2 separate regions of the Homo sapiens genome follow, and region 2 is linked to region 1. Evidence: promoter capture Hi-C in 16 types of primary human blood cells and fetal thymus (Javierre and others, 2016). All regions are on one chromosome and are shown on one strand. Each heading gives the region's core, a stretch centred on a gene start or on the middle of the fragment in contact. The rest is flanking DNA. Distances are from core to core; before and after follow the strand shown.

Region 1 (5,356 bases), core at 1,290-3,789:
AACTTAACGAAGTGGTTATCATTTTAGAGCTGATGAAACATTATTTAGAGATGTCACGATAACCTCTCTAAATAGTCCAGGACATAGTCACCGATTAGTAGAGTTGAGATTCAAAAGGAATTTCTTACTTCAAAGTTCATGTTCTTATCAACGAGCTTTTCTGGGATGCTATTATAATTCTGCCCCATCCCCAGCTCCTCTGCCTAGGGAACACATCTTTCAGGACTTGGCTGAAATATCACCTCATGCAAGATATCTTCCTTAACCTTCTCAGTTACGTAACTTCCTGTTTTCTTATAGTTCTTTACTTACCTTACTACCAACTATCCTATTGCTAAAATTATTTGTTTTAACCATTGGAGCAGGGCTGTCCAACAGAAACATAATGTGAGTCACATGTTTAATTTAAAATTTCTTTTTGTGGCCACGTTAAACATAAAAATAGATGAAATATTTCACTTTAACCTATTATGCCCCAAATATTATCAACATATAATCAATATAAAAACATATTGAGATATTTTGCATTCTTTTTGGTTCTTCAAAATTGGTATGTATTTTACACTTATAGCACATCTCAATTTGGACCAGACAAAGTTCAAGTGCTCAGAGCCAAAAGTGGCTGGTAGCTACCATATCAGACCTCACAGGACTAAACTGAAATCCTCTAACCTGGGCAGCAGGTTCTCTTTTCATCTTTGAATTTTCTCTTGACTAGCACACAAAGTATCATTAATGTATACCCAATCAATAGACCAACAGACCTATGGAAAGAATATGGAACTCAAAGAGGAGCAGATTGGTCATACCGCTAAAAAGTAAAGGATATGTGAGGACAACAGAAATCACTGCAACGGCAAGCCATGACTGTGTCAGTACAATCATGGGTGACAAAGCAAGAACCTACTCAAAAAATAAGTATTTATTATAACAACATCTACCAGGCTTATGCCTGTAATCCCAGCATTTTGGGATGCCGAAGGAGGAGGACTGCTTGAGTCCAGGAGTTTGAGACCAGCCTGGGCAATACAGTGAGACTCATCTTCACAAAAAACTTAAAAAATTATAGAGTGTGGTGGTGCATGCCTATAGTTTCAGCTACTCTGGAGGCCGAGGCAGGAGGATTGCTTGAGCCTGGGAGATGGAGGTTGTAGTCATCTGAGATCACATCACTGCGCTCCAGTCTGGGTGACAGAGCTAGACCCTGTCTCAAAAAATAAATAACCACATCAGTGTACTTCAGCAACCTAATAAGAAACAGTCAAACACCTTGTTTATTCTGCACCTCTTCTATGTGGAGCTGCTGCAAATAATATAATCAGCAAGAGAAACAATAGCAGCTAACATTTGTAGACTATGAGCCACTGTTCTAAATATCTTACTTCCATTACCTCATTTAATTTTCAGGACTCAGGGACAATTATTATCTCTTTCCATAAGAGGAAAATAAGGTGTAGAACGCATAAACGCTATGCAGAGATTTAAACCTAAGCAGCTTAACTCCAGAGCTCTTTCAAACTGCTACATTCCAGTCTTTCTCCGAATTCATTAAAAATAAATTACATGCAGACCCCCACAATAGGCACTGAGGTCGCTAAAAGTTTAAAAGGCATGGTTTGAACAAGTATTTGCTGTCAGCCATGTGTGAATACAAAGGCAGGTAAGACACGGTTTCTGCTCTCAAGGAGGGAGGTCAAGACAACCACTTTATAAACCTGGATATTCATTATAAGGGATAAAGATAGAGAAAGGGGGCTTGTTCATTTACACTTTTGGTATGATTAACAAGTTTACAGGTAATACCCTGGAATCATGAAAGCAAAGTTCCAGCGCTTTACAGTTATCGGAACAGTTTTGTGAAAAGTAATGGAAATCAGAAAAGTGCAAACCCGCGACGCCTACACTTTCTAACTTTTCCCTGCTGGCGGTTGTGTCTGACCCGACTGTAAAAGAAAAGCTAGATGTGGATGTGCCATATAAAAGTCCCTACAAGAAAAAACCCACTCCCTTCCCATTCACCAACCTGGATCTTAATGCGCTCCCCACTCGCGTTCTGAGCCCCGAGAGCGTCCCGCACGCTCAGTTTGGCTGAAGGTTTGTGCTTGGGGAAGGGGGCGGAGGAACAGAAGCGCACGGACCGCAGCAGGCAGCGGACCCCCAGCATCCCGCGTCCGCCCAGGCCCTCCGCGGGAGCAGCCCAGACCCCACGGTTCGAACCCCGCCTGCAGCGGCCCTCCTTTCTCAGCTGCTCCCCTTCCGCGGCCGCAGCTCTGCTCTAAGGCACTCCAGAGCCCCTCGGCTGCGCGCTTTCTCCTTCAGGACTCCCAGCTCTGTCCCCACAGAACCTCTCCGCTTCCCACTTCCCAACGGGGCGGAATGGACAGGACACTAGGCAAACGCCAGAAAGAAACCACGTGCAGTTGGCAGCTGGGGCGCCCCACTACCCGCGACAATTGTAAACCTACGAACAGAACCCGGGCCGCAACACGCGCAACCACTCCTACCACACCACGCCAACGCCGCTTACGTCATCACGCTACGGGGAAGAAGGGAGAGCATGCGTACTTGTGACCCAGGCTTAGGGAGGCGTGCGGGAGGGGGCGGGGTCAGGAGCCGAGACGGGGCGGAGCTAATGCCCTAAGGTTGTAGAGATTATCGCTGAAAGAACGTGGGAGCACATCTGAGGGTCTTCATTTCTAAAGTTTCCAGGTGAGGCTGAGAAACTGAGAGGCAAGGAGTGACTGATGGAGAGGGAAACCGTCTCCATCAGTCAACAATAGGGATCCAAGTAAGAGGAGGCTCTTAGCTGTTAACAGGATTCGCTTGAAGAGATCAGTCGTTCCTTTCCTGAGTACTCCGCAGAGAAAAATCAGACATAGCCCCAATGCGCAAGTCACAGTTGTGTGGTATCAGACAGCTAAACAGACAGTTGCATAAAAGGGCGATCAGTTTGCCTGACAGAGCCTAAGCGTGGGACGCCAGAGATGGCTTCCTGGAGAAAGTAGTCCTCTGACAGGTAAATAAAAGGAACTGGAGGGACCTTGCATATGGCAGGCAAGACGGTGGGAAGATGTTGCAGAGACTGGAGGAAACTCGAGTGTTTCCTGCCAGAATCCTCCAAGTCTCCCTCTTCCCTCTGCCCTCCAACACAGCTATCTGCATTTGTTTGACCTGGAAACAATGACCCTTTTATATATTAGGCTACGTTTTATTAAAAAAAAAATTCTGTAACTCAATGACGGTCATTAAAAGGTTTTTAATCTAATTTAAAAAGTAAAACGTTTGGCCAAGTGCGGTGGCTCACGCCTGTAATCCCAACTCTTAGGGAGGCAGAAGCAGGAGGATTGCTTCAGCCCAGGAGTTCAAGACCAGCGCTCGCCCTCGCTGTCTCTCTCCCGCTCCCTCTCACTCTCACTCTCTCTCTCTCACTTTTACCTTACTTAAAGTTGCTACTATTATTATACCCATTTTACAAATGAGAGAACTTACGCACAGAAAGGCTAGATGACCTACTTAAGGATACACATTCCCTAAGTGTGAGATTTAAACCCAGAAGTGCTGGCTCTATGCACTTAAGCAGTATGCTGTATTACATAGTGTCCCAAGGTGATCTGTTCCATCAAGGAGCTCATGCTTTAGAGATGGAGACAAGCAAGAAAAGAGACTACTGAAATATAAACCAGTAAGTGCACACATAGATGTATGAGTTGTCTGCATTTGTTTGGACTGAAAAGTCACCCTTATATATTAGGCTACCTCTTAAATTTATCCAAAAAATTATTTTTGATATTTTATCCAAATATTATATTGGATAAAATATAATACAATTATAATATATACATGTATCACAATTTTATATTTTATATAATATAAATGTGTTCCCTGGTTCTTTTAATAAATTAAAATTATAAATATAATAAAATTATAATTATAAATTATAATATATAATTAAATTATATTGGATATATTATATATTATATACTTATAATATAAAATATGTTGGATAAAATATAATATAGTCTAGAGAAGGAGAAAATTAAGCTGAATTTTTGAAGTGGATCAATATTTTGCCAGGTAGGCATGTAAGAAAATTTCCTGCCAGAAGGTGAACACGGAAGGTTGCCAGGAGGGCAAATGGCCTGGAAAAATTGTAAAATCATTCTTAAGACAGGCTAGAAAATATCTCATCTGAAAATACTTGATGTTGGAGGTGGAACCTAGTGAGAAGTGTTTGGATCATGAAGGCCTTGGTGCCACCCTTGCAGGAGTGAATTCTCAGTCCATTAGTTTTTGCAAAGCTGATTGTTGAAAAGAGCCTGGCACCCCCCTCCCTCTCTCTTCCTTCCTCTTTTGCCATGTGATGTTTGCTCCCCTTTGCCTTCCTGAATGGCTGAATGACAACAAACCTTGACATTATTTACTTTGAGTGGAAGCAGATTCTGGTGCGATGCTTCTTGCACAGCCTGCAGAACTGTGCAAATAAATGAATACACTTCTTATCGATCAAAAAAAATATATAGGCCAGGCGCAGTGGCTCACGCCTGTAATCCTAGCACTTTGGGAGGCCAAGGTGGGCAGACTGCCTGAGCTCAGCCTGGGCAACATGGTGAAACCCTATCTCTACTAAAATATAAAAAATTAGCTGGATGTGGCAGCATGTGCCTGTAGTCCCAGCTACTCGGGAGGCTGACGCAGGAGAATTGCCTGAACCTGGGAGGCAGAGGTTGCGGTAAGCTGAGATCACGTCACTGCACTCCAGCCTCAGCAACTGAGTGAGACTCTGTCTCAAAAAAAAAAAGAAAAAGAAAAGAAAAGAAAAGAAAAAAATACTTGGGCACTTCTTGAACCTTGAGAAAGGAAAAATGGAAACTTGCAGCCAATGCCTTCAGAATTATGCAGCTATGGACTTTTAAGGGAAAAAAAGTTCGCTCGTTCAAAATCTGGGGAACAAGACAGTCTGGGGTACATAACAATGATGTTTATCCCAGTGAAAATCTTTTCTTTGCCTATGCCTACCCTGTCCAAGTGATCAAAAGTAGTAACCAGTTGGCTCATTTCTTACTCATGCCATTTTTCTGTCTTGCCTTCTGCTATGGCTTGGATATGATTTGTTTGTCCCCACAAAAACTCATGTTGAAATTTAATCCCTGATGTGGTGGTGTTGGGAGATGAGGCCTAATGGAAGTGGTCTGGTGTATGGGAGCAGATCCCTCATGAGTGGCTTGGTGCTGTTTCCGTGGACTGCATGAGTTCTTGCAAGAATGGGCTTGTTTCCACCACAGTAGGTTGTTATAAGGCCAGGATGCCCCTCAGGGGTTCCCCTTTTTGCACATGTCCACTTCCCCTTTGACCTTCT
Region 2 (5,676 bases), core at 1,253-3,752, 1.1 Mb before region 1:
AAGAGTGAAGATGAGAGTGGCAGGGGAGCCACAGAAAGTGAGACTGCAAAGGCAGGCAGTGGTCTGATCCCTGAGAGCTTTTTATTCCATGTTACTCTGAAATTTATCTTCAGAATATGAAGAGTCAGGGGTAGGGGGCGCTGATGTGGTAAGGTTTTGTTTTACAGAAATCTTTCTGGATGCACAGTACCTTCCTTTGAGGCACTGCTTCCTTCAAACCTAGCACAGGGACTCAAAACATGTGCTTAGTAAATGTATATTGAATTGAACTGAACAAGCTTTTTACCAAATGCCCTGTTATGGATGAGGCAGGTCACCTTCCCTGCAGGACTCACTTTGGCCAAGAGAAGACTTGTAAAACAGGTCCAGCAGCCTCAATTATTGCACACTACTACCTGTACAACTGGAGTCCCCCAGAGATTAGGGCAGACCTTCATTGTTTACTTGTCTACCTCACCCATTAGACTTTGAGCTCTTTGAAGACAGGGAATATCTTAATAGACTGAATCCCCATAGCCTTAGCAAGAGGCCTGAAACATAGTAGCTCTCCGAACTCCAGTAATGTTGGATAAACGAATTGACTGAATAAGCAAATTTACCAAGGTAGACCCATGAGCTCATGTAGTTAAAGAGTATGGATAAGCTTCAGGGAAAGTATGGGAAGTTTTCAGGGTCAATGTTCCCAAAACCCTTTTTGAAAGGCATAGTTTCTAGTTGAGGTGGGGAGTTTTTATATGCACCTGACTTAGAATTTTCCAAATAGGAACCAAAATGTTGTAAGTGCTGTGGTAGAAATCCCACCGGGCCAATGGGAAGAAATCAGCTCTGTCTGTAAGAGGAGAGACAGGATGGAGGCCAGCAAAGACTTCACAGTGTGGGAATTCTTCAGTGGACTCTTGAAAGCTGAGTCCGGTGCTTGCTACTTGCCCGTTTTGGGGCATAAAACCAAACTTCTGGAGCTTTTAAGGCTGGAAGTGACCTGCTCAAGGTCACACAAGAAGTAGATGAAGCCACAGGGTAAGAGAGATGAGGTATCTGTACTGATAATTCCTACTTTCTCCTGACAGAGTTGAAAGAGAACCCAAAAATGTAGGAGGCAAAATTAAAGATTGTTCTCAGGAACAATTCTTAAAGTCAAGACTAATGAATCTGAATTTTTATTAGTAACCACGGAACTAACCCTTCCCTTCACTGTTCACAGTTTTTGTAACAGTAGAACAATTATCCAAGGGGTTTAAAAACCAAGGACGTTGCTCACAACGCCACACCCACTACTTCTCAAGTATTCTTCCAAAACACTCCCAGTAATGTGTACTGCTGAAATAGGATAGCGAAGGCTACAACAATCATGTCTTTTCAAACGTAATAATGAACATAAAATAACTATAAATCTCCTTCCCCGGTTGTTTTTCACTTCCCAAGTTACAGAATATTCCGGGGTGGGGGAGGGGCTGCGTAAGTCAAGTCCTACCAGCCCTTATTTTTCAGGGAGTAGAACCCTAAAGGTGACTGTCCAAGCCTGGAAGGGGTCATTTATTCCATGCAGAAGGAACTGGGCGCCGCTTTGCTGTGCCTCCTCGTAGCGGGACAGGGTGAGCGCCGCAGGACTGCGAAGTTCGGGACGGACTCGGTCCCGGACCGGTACTCGTGTGGCCTCCCGGCTCCAGCCTGGCCTGGCCCCGCCCCGCCCCTTCCCTCTCCCAGGTCTCTCGAATCGCCCGGCGTCTGAGACCCGCGACCCCGCCGGTACGCGCACAGGGGGCCTTTGTTGGCCCGACGGGAGCGGGCCTCGCGGGGCGCCGCCCGCCTCACCTTACCTGGCGCCTCCTCCCGCCCAGGCGCCCGGCCCCGCAACGCGAAATAAATGGGCCCAGACCCCCACTCCACCCGTCCCCACCCCCGCGCCCCAGCCCTGGCAGCCCGGGACGCGAGGGGTACTGGGCGGTAGGCCCGCTCTCACCTTCCGCGCTCGCTCAGCTCCTCTCGGCTCCTCCTCCTCCTCCCGGCGGTGGGTGCCGCCTAGCCGGGAGTGAGGGCGCGAGTGTGCGCGAGCTACCGCTTCACTTTCTCCCTCCTGCCGCCGCCGCCGCGCTGCCCGTGGCGGGGCTCCCCTCAGGACAGGGGAACTGCGAGGGAAGGGATGATGGGGGGGCGGGAGGGAGCGAGGCGACGCGGGCGGGGGGGGAAGGGGGGACTGAGGGGCGAGGTGCGAAGGGCTCAGATGGCCTCTGAGGCAGGAGGTGGTAACTGGATGCGGAGACCAGGTTCCTCGAGGGGGCTCACGAAAGCGCGGGGCTCCGTGGAAAAGGGAATGAGAGTCCAAGGGGGAAGGCGTCTGTGGGGGAGGACTGCAGAGCCTGTGAGGGAAGCGCGATGGGCGAGCGAGGGGGCGGGAGCGTGTGGGGGAAGCCGTGAGGGGGCGTCTACTGTGCAGCCACCACCTTCGGCTCCGGCTGCAGCCGCGGGAGGGCAGCCTCCCCCGCCCACAGCCGCGCTATTGTACGCCGCCCGGCAGGCCTGACCGCCTAGTTCACTGGCTCCCCTACTCCTCCTCCTCCCGCCTCCTCCTCCCCTCTGCCCTTTCCCCTTCTCCCCCTCCCCCTCCCCCACTCCCCCTCCCCGGCGCGGCGGCGGCGGCTGCGGCTCCGGTGGAGCCGTGCCCGCCCCGCCTCCCGCAGGTGAGAGGGGGCGGGGAGGGCCTGACCGACCCGTGGGAGCGAGGCCAAACCCTGGCCCGCATGAGGGCGAACGCCTGGGATTACGTCATCGGCGCGTGACGCCAGAGGCTGGGGAATCACCCGCTTGCTGCGTGACGTCATCGCGTCGCGTCACTGTTCTCGGTCCGCTGTCCGTGGCGGGTTGTTTCCGTGCAGCCTTTCTATCAGACAATTTTGGGACGATTTCTGGGAGGGCTACTGTAGTAGTCAGGATGGAGAAAGACGGCTAACTTCCGGCGCTGAGGGTCCTTTTCAGGTTAACAAAGCACCACCGCATCTATGAGCTCGTTGTCAAGGGCTGAATTTGAAAACTATCCGATGTCGTGTGATCTCACAGCCAGACATGTATTATGTTTTCTTTCTGTGGGAGAGGGGGCAGGGGTGGGAGGAAGACAAAGAAATTATAACGGAGATGTTTGAACTAATGTGAACTGACATACGAAAAGAATGGGCTTCCTTTCACGTTTTTTCCCCTACCGTGGAGGGTACTTTCGACCCAAAGCTTTCTTTCTCCTGAGCTCAGATTGTGTATTTCCCAATACCTCCCGAGCAGCATTACCTGCATACTCTTCGTACCTCAGATTCAACATGTGCGAAACTGAGACAGCATTAGAAAGGCTAAGAGTCCGGAATCAGGTTGCCTTGCTTGAAATCCTAGCTATTCAAATATTAGTGATAGGACCTTGACATTTCTAAGCCGTAATTTTTCTGTAATAATAAGTAGTACCTTAACTAGGTCTTCCTAAGCCTCAGTTTTACCATGGTAATAGTAACAAGCCCTTTAGAATGTTGGCTATTATTATTATTTCCCCCCCAAAATTGCTTCTTACGTTCCTTTCCGTTCTCAATGAATGGGCCACCCATTCAACAATCCCCTAAGCCAGGAACCTAGACATACTAATAGCTCCCCGTTCTTCCTCTCTCAACATCCATATCAAGTTGGACACCAAGTCTTGTAGCTTCTCCTAAATATTTTTCAAGTCCTTGCCTGTGTCGTCTTCTACTACCACCACCTGAACAACTGGAGCAACCTTTAGTCTCTTCAAACTCAATCTATTTTTCTCACTAGTTACCTGAGTAGCCTTATAAAAGCACAAATCTGATGATGTCCTCCCGTTTAAACACCGAAAGGATTTTATTGCTTTCAGGATAAAGTTCAAACTCCTGAACTTGGCACTTTATTACCTGACTGCTTACACTAGCCTTTCTAGCTTTGTCTCACATCATTTATTTTTTGCTCCAAGCACACTGAAATATTAACGTTATTTGAATACACATTTCTTCATGTCTTCAAGCTCTTCCCTACTTAGCTGACTGGCCAACACCTATTCATTGTACAAAGCTGAGCTCAAATGTCATTCATATTCATATTCATATTCATTTGACTAATATTTCTAAAGTTTCCCTAAGCCTTAACAAAACTGTAATTCTATAGTATTTCTATGCCTTTTATGGAAGTAACTGCATTTGTGTATCTAATTTCTTGAGTTCCAAGTCATATTCCTTTCCATATCCTCAGCACCTAAAACAGTGCTTGACATATACCTAAGTATCAATATGTTGTTAAAATATATTTAATAAGGCCAGGCGCGGTGGCTCACGCCTGTAATCCCAGCACTTGGGAGGCCAAGGCAGCCAGATCACCTGAGGTCAGAAGTTTGAGACCAGCCTGGCCAATATGGCGAAACCCCATCTCTACTAAAATACAAAAATTAGCCGGGCGTAGTGGCAGGCACCTGTAATCCCAGCTACTCAGGAGGCTGAGGCAGGAGAATTGCTTAAACCCAGGAGGCGGTGGTTGTAGGAAGCTGTGATTGCACCACCACACTCCAGCCTGGGTGACAAGAGCAAAACTCTGTCTCAAAAAAAATGTATTTAATAAATGTTCCTATTGTTCTTTCTATGTGCCAGGTACTGTTCTGAGCACTTTACAAACACTGTCTTTAAACCTCTACCCTCTACGGTAGATACTGTTGTTATCCTCACCCATCTTATTGATGCGGGAACTGAGGCACAGAGGGGTTAAGTAACTTAACCCAGGATCCTAACCCAGTAAATTGACTCTAATCTGGATTGTCTTTTCGTGATCTCTGCACTAGGCAGAATAATGGCTCATCCAATGGAATGTTCACATTCCAATCCCTGGGAACTATGAATATGTTACCTTCCATGACAAAAGGACTCTGCAGATGTGAGTAAATTGAGGATTTGGGGAAAGGGACTCTCCAGCTTTTGGGAGCAGACTGGAAAATGGAAAAGGCAAGAAAATGGATCCTCCCTTGGAGCCTCTGGAAAGGAAGAGATGGTATCCTGATGATACCTTAATTTTAGCCCACTGACATCCATTTAGGACTTCTGAACTACAGAACTGTGAAATAATAAATGTGTATTGTTGGCCAGGCACAGTGGCTCACATCTGTAATCCCAGCACTTTGGGAGGCCGAGGCGGGTGTATCACCTGAGGTCAGGAGTTCAAGAGCAGCCTGGCCAACATGGTGAAACCCCATCTCTACTAAAAATACAAAATTAGCTGGGCGTGGTGGCACATGCTTGTAATCCCAGCTACTCGGGAGCTGAGGCAGGAGAATCGGTTGAATCCAGGAGGTAAAGATGCTGTGAGCCGAGATTGCGCCATTGCACTTAAGCCTAGAGACAAGAGTGAAACTCCATCTCAAAAAATAAAATAAAAAAATAAAAATAAATGTGTATTGTTTTAAGCCCACTTTGTGTTTGATAATTTGTTACAGCATCCATAAGAAACTAATACAATCTCTAATCAAAGGTGACTGCTCTATGCTAGGAATTGCTAGCAGGATGAGAAGTGAAACTGTCCACCAAAGCTGCAGCTGAAATCAGAGATGGGCTAGAAGTGGAATAAATAAGTAGGATAAGTGTATACAGTAAGTCCTCACTTAACGCCATCAATGGGTTCTGCAACTTTAGGCAAAACAATGTATAA

The links. Contacts are between HindIII fragments. The CHiCAGO score rates a contact against its expected background, and 5 or more counts as called.
Region 2: the fragment with the promoter of PAK1 here is called in contact with the fragment with the promoter of NARS2 in region 1 in 5 of 17 cell types (non-activated CD4 T cells, total CD8 T cells, activated CD4 T cells and 2 more); the score reaches 9.8 in non-activated CD4 T cells.

What each region holds. Positions count from the first base shown.
Region 1 is chr11:78,572,325-78,577,680 of GRCh38, forward strand. It overlaps NARS2 (asparaginyl-tRNA synthetase 2, mitochondrial), which reads right to left and starts at 2,540. Exons shown (of 14, transcript NM_024678.6): 1 at 2,024-2,540. The coding sequence starts at 2,164. RefSeq lists enhancers at 1,926-2,035, 2,696-2,835. The HindIII fragment of the contact is 10,208 bases long and covers 1-5,356 here.
Region 2 is chr11:77,471,592-77,477,267 of GRCh38, forward strand. PAK1 (p21 (RAC1) activated kinase 1) reads right to left here and starts at 2,503. Exons shown (of 15, transcript NM_002576.5): 1 at 1,961-2,503. RefSeq lists an enhancer at 1,611-2,527 and silencers at 1,768-2,077, 2,098-2,147, 2,378-2,737. The HindIII fragment of the contact is 2,576 bases long and covers 642-3,217 here.